Regions from separate parts of the Homo sapiens genome. Here region 2 is linked to region 1. The links are contacts of gene promoters, found by promoter capture Hi-C in blood cells and fetal thymus (Javierre and others, 2016). All regions are on one chromosome and are shown on one strand. The core of a region is centred on a gene start or on the middle of the fragment in contact, and the rest is flanking DNA. Distances in the headings are between cores, read along the strand shown.

What was found. The method cuts DNA at HindIII sites, captures the fragments that hold promoters and counts their contacts. A CHiCAGO score of 5 or more calls a contact.
Region 2: a contact is called between a fragment that was not itself captured here and the fragment with the promoter of IL4 in region 1, in 1 of 17 cell types (endothelial precursors). The highest score is 5.2, in endothelial precursors.

What each region holds. Positions count from the first base shown.
Region 1 is chr5:132,672,567-132,675,266 of GRCh38, reverse strand. It overlaps IL4 (interleukin 4), which reads right to left and starts at 1,278. Exons shown (of 4, transcript NM_000589.4): 1 at 1,082-1,278; 2 at 761-808. The coding sequence starts at 1,216. The HindIII fragment of the contact is 7,466 bases long and covers 555-2,700 here.
Region 2 is chr5:132,817,721-132,820,420 of GRCh38, reverse strand. No RefSeq gene overlaps it. Among named protein-coding and RNA genes, the nearest start is that of SOWAHA, 5.8 kb to the right of the region's middle. RefSeq lists a silencer at 54-133. The HindIII fragment of the contact is 2,985 bases long and covers 1-2,700 here.

The sequences.
Region 1 (2,700 bases), core at 29-2,528:
TGAAATGCACAAAACTATTGATACGGCTGTAGTCATGTGTTTGTCAGAGAAAATGCACTATCAGCTGTCAAATCTATCTCCTCCCACTACAGATAGAGGGGTGGGGGTGAGGCAGCACAGGAGGCAGAGAGGCGAGGTGCCCAGGCAGCCCGAAGCAGGGATGTGCTGGACGCTGCCCAGCAGGATGGTTCCAGACCGAGCTGGAGGGGAGTTCGGCCGGCCAGAGCAAGCTGAGGAGCTCTGGACGGCCAGCCCCGGAACCCAGAGGGCTGTTAGGTGGCCAGGCTGTGGAAGAGGAGGGGCTCTGGCGATACCTTTTCTGTTGCCATAGGAAGTCTCTTAGACAAAATGAAAGCTCCCTCAACCTGTCATCTCAATATCTGTTTCTGTGAGAGTATTTGGTTTTTCAGAAATGTATGGGCCAGAAAAATTCTCTCATTCAACAGGCATTTATTGAGTGCCTCCTACGTTCCAGGCACTATGCCAAAGCTAAGTAAAACCCAAGAGGGCTTTTCTTTGACCAGGATCTGAGTCAGGACTACAGCATGTAAGCTTTCTATTACATGTCTTCTAAATCAAGTGAAACCAGAAAGACCAAAACATGCTTAAGAGTAAAGATCAGACTTCTCGTTCTTTGAAAACATCTAACACCTTAGAGTTAATTTGGGCCCGCTCGTTTTCCATTAGACAAGTTTCTTGTTCAGACATTTGGGGATGGATCTCCCCATTTGCTAAAACAGACCGTGGGACGGCTTCTTACCTTGGAGGCAGCAAAGATGTCTGTTACGGTCAACTCGGTGCACAGAGTCTTGGTCCAGGCAGAAATGAGAGAGCAAGAGACAGAGTTAACCTCCAACCGGACAGAGAAGTCCTTGATGAGCAGCTCTCACTCCCTCCAACTGAGGAAACTTCCTACAAACCCTCAGAAAAAAGAGTGGCAGGGGAGAAGCCTCGCTGTGTGCCCTGGACTGCCACCAACCACCAGTTCCAACTTCTCTAGCAGCTGTTAACGTTTTCATGCCTAGAAATACTGAGAGCATCACCAGAACATCTGGAGAGATGGTGCCAGATAGGTACTCACCTTCTGCTCTGTGAGGCTGTTCAAAGTTTTGATGATCTCCTGTAAGGTGATATCGCACTTGTGTCCGTGGACAAAGTTGCCGGCACATGCTAGCAGGAAGAACAGAGGGGGAAGCAGTTGGGAGGTGAGACCCATTAATAGGTGTCGATTTGCAGTGACAATGTGAGGCAATTAGTTTATCAGGAGAAGCTAACGATGCAATGCTGACAAAGATATCTCTATATATAGATTTAAAATTGCTGAAACCGAGGGAAAATGAGTTTACATTGGAAATTTTCGTTACACCAGATTGTCAGTCACTTGGGGCCAATCAGCACCTCTCTTCCAGGAGAAAAAATGCCTCACAAACAGGTAAAATGTTCCTGTGAAATCAGACCAATAGGAAAATGAAACCTTTTTAAAAAATTAACTACAAAGTTTCAGCATAGGAAATTACACCATAATTTGCTCTTTAGATTAATCTTATCAGCTTGGGGCTGCTGCTGGCTTTTTGCTTTGCATAGAAGGGAGAGGCCACAGGTGTCCGAATTTGTTGTAATGCAGTCCTCCTGGGGAAAGATAGAGTAATATCAAGAAAGTTTTACTTGAAAAGTATTTTAACCTGGCTTCTTCCAAGTACAGGTGGCATCTTGGAAACTGTCCTGTCATGGAAAAGCTGATCTGGGGCTCCTTCTCTGCATAGAGGCAGAATAACAGGCAGACTCTCCTACCCCAGCACTGGGGGACAATGTTCTCCCAAGTTTAGGTGTTTTGAGAAGGACAGGTCGTATCAGGTGAGGCCTAGTTTGGGTCCCAGCAGGTCCATAAGGTCCTTACCCATAAGGAAGCCCTTGGCAAGGTAGGTCTATTCTGAGGTTTCAGGAATGACTTTTTTTTTTTTTTTTCTGAGACAGGGTCTCACTCTGTCACCCAGGCTGAAATGCAATGTTGTGATCAGGGATCACTGCAGCCTCAACCTCCCAGGCTCAAGTGATCCTCCCACCTCAGCCCCCCTAGCAGTAGGTGCGTGCCACCGCACCATGCCTGGCTCATTTTTATTTTTATTTTTTGATAGAGATAAGAGTCTCACTATGTTGCCTAGGCTCATCTCAAATTCCTGGGCTCAAGTGATCCTCCTACCTCAGTCTCCCAAAGCTCTGAGATTACAGGTGTGAGCCACCATGCCTGGCCAGGAATGCCCACTTTTTGAATGGAACCTAAACACATCCTCAGCTAATTAGGAAAAAGAGCTACAGTCTTACCAACTTACAAATCAGCCCTCCTAGTCAGTGCCCCACCACCCGCCCTGCTTGTTTTTTATTGAATTCATGTGGACACAATAAGGTGCTCATTGCCTCACCCCAGCAGTGAACGTAAGGACCCCACCACTCACTCAGGTGCCTGGGCCCTGTGCAAGGCCACCCCACCTCCCAGTAAGGGCTCATGGGCAGCAGGATTCTTGGGCCCTGCCTGCCCCCTGCTTTTCTCCCAGAACCTTCCCTTCCCTTGGTCTCTGACCTTCTTTTCCCTATGAATTTCTTTTTTTTTTTTTTTTTTTTGAGATGGAATCTTGCTCTGTCACCCAGGCTGGAGTGCAGTGGCGTGATCTTAGTTCACTGCAAGCTCCGCCTCCTGGGTTC
Region 2 (2,700 bases), core at 1-2,500, 150 kb before region 1:
CAGAGGGCAAGAATGAGCTCACCACATTTGTTCCGTTATCAGCACCTCAGACTTCAAGACTTTGTGGGGACCAGAAGCCCGGTGAACTGACCCTTCAGGATACTGCCAGCAGAGGGCGCTGTCCTAATGGTGAAAGCTGGTACCTACGCTTCGCCATTCGCAGCTTCTCCAGCTTACCAGGCCCTCTGGGCCAGCCACAGGGACTTTGACTTGCCCTGCTGAGCAGTTAGGCCCGAAAGCTGGAGCTGAGCCTTTTGCTTCTTTCAGAAAGAAACTGACCAGCCAGGCAGGGAAAGGCTGGCTGTCTTTGCCACTGGGCCTTTGTTGGAAAGTTGCTGGCCAATGAGAAGTGGGAGAGAGGGCAGTCGGGGGGAGGGGTGTGGGGGGATTTAAACGGTACACTGATTAAATCATATCCTCCTAATACGGATTCGATCAGTGCACTTTTTGATTTCGAACATAAGTATCAAAAAAACAAAAAAAAAAAAACAAAAAAGCCTTGCGTAGTCTCCCAGGGTGAGAAAGCGGGTTGCATGGGTCCCTATAGGGGTTTCTGCGCCCCCATCTCCTTTAGCCGCCGGCACCCCTGCCCCATCCTCCTTCCTGGCTGCCTGCCGCGGTGCTTTCGGGCTTTTGGGGGAGCACAGGCCGCGGCTGGCATCGTTGCTGGGCAACAGGCAGCCCCGCGGCCGCCTCCCCAGCTCGCTTATTCCGCCCCCGCTGCTCCTCCTAACATGGATTTAATCAGTGTACTTTTTACCTTCAGGCTGTAAATTAGAAACGGAACAGGGAAGCCATGTTCGGCGGTGCCCGAAACCGGCGCGCAGTCTGTCTTGAACATCCTGCTCGGCACAAAACTTACCCCTGAGAGCGGCTGGCGCAAACCTCAGGGCTCCTCATTGGAACAAATTGCCGTGCTGTGCATTCACATGTAAACCAGGAGCTCAGGAAATTTAGGTCAAATGTGTTTGAGGGCTGCAGAGAGAAACAGGTGAAAGGGGCATTTGGGGGCGCAGGAAGGCGGGAGGCGGCAATTGCTGAGGACCCCATAGTGTTGCTGTCAGCCTAGCTACAGCGTGGAAGGTCACAATGGACGTTTACCTGTTGTCTTTGATGTTTAAATCAGCACCCACTTCCCACGAGGAGGATTTTTTTTTCTTTGAGGAGAGAATCTAGATCTCGATGTCTCTGCTTTCTTTTTTCTTCCCTGCAGGCACACCTGAGGCACCCCGGCCCCAGGTTGAAGTCTGGAGGTGTGGCAGTTCCAAACAGGTGAGGCGGGTTCAAGGCAAAAGGCTATCTGGAGAGCAAAAGAGAATCTAAGTATAGGCCAGGCGCCTATAAATACAGGCTGACTGTCGCCTGTAATCACAGCAGTTTGGGGGGCCGAGGCGGGCTAATTGCCTGAGCTCAGGAGTTCTGAGCTCAGGAGTTCGAGACCAGCCTGGCCAACATGGTGAAACCCCCGTCTCTAACAAAAGATTAGCCAGGCGTGGTGGTGCACGCCTGTAATCCCAGCTGCTCGAGAAGCTGAGGCACGGAAATCGTTTCAAGCGAGAATCGCTTGAACCAGGGAGGCGGAGGTTGCAGTGAGCCGACATCCCACCATTGCACTCCAGCTCAGGTGGCTGAATAGCAGTGGTTAGGTCTGGAAGGTAGGAGTAGGAATGCTAGAGGAATGTGAGTTTAGAAAGACATTATTTCTATTTTAACTAAAGTGATATCATGTACAGAATATGGGATAATTTCCCTCTTGTGGGAATACATTTTTCCTAGTAGAGTCGATTGTTACTTATGTATACAATCACCAACATGTTAAAAGAATGGTGATCATGGCAGGGCACGGTGGCTCACACCTGTAATCGCAGCACTTTGGGAGGCCAAAGCAGGCAGATCACCTAAGATCAGGAGTTTGAGACCAGCCTGACCAACATGGTGAAACCCCATCTCTACTAAAAATTCAAAAAATTAGCCAGGCATGGTGGCACGTGCCCGTGATCTCAGCTACTTGGGAGGCTGAGGCAGGAGAATCGCTTGAAGCCGGGAGGCAGAGGTTGCAGTGAACTGAGATTGCACTACTGCACTCCAGCCTGGGTGACAGAGCGAGACTCCATCTCAAAAAAGAAAAAAAAAAAAAGAAAGAATGATCATGTAAAGCAGATCCACAAATCAGAGCTATTTGGTTTTGGGATGCAGCCATTTACCCCCTGGAACCAACTCGGCACCCCACATTGGTGTTGCAGTTCATAAAGAGCTCTATCCACTCATTCTACGTGCTCTTCCTTCCCCCACAGCCTGTGAAATAGGTACAGGAAGCCTTTTGTCCCGTAGACAGGGAAGATGGAGTTTGGGGAGCTGGGTGACTTGCCCAAAGACACTAAATGAGTAAAAAGGGCTGAGATGAGCCCACCCTGCTTCCTGCAATAGGATAGCAGACAGTGTCATGAAAAAGAGAACCAGGAGACTATTCCAGCTCTGCATTTACTAGCTGTGAGGCCTAGACAAGTAACTTATGACTTCTCTAGGCTTCAGTTTCCTCACTTTAAAATCAAGATACAAATAGTACATACCTTATAAACTTGCGATTAATACCTGCAAAGTGTTTCGAATTGTGCCTGGCACTTAATCAGCACAGGTTATACAGTATATGCATTACCCTGGATCTCCATTAGGTAAGGGAGACATGCTTAAGAATAACCT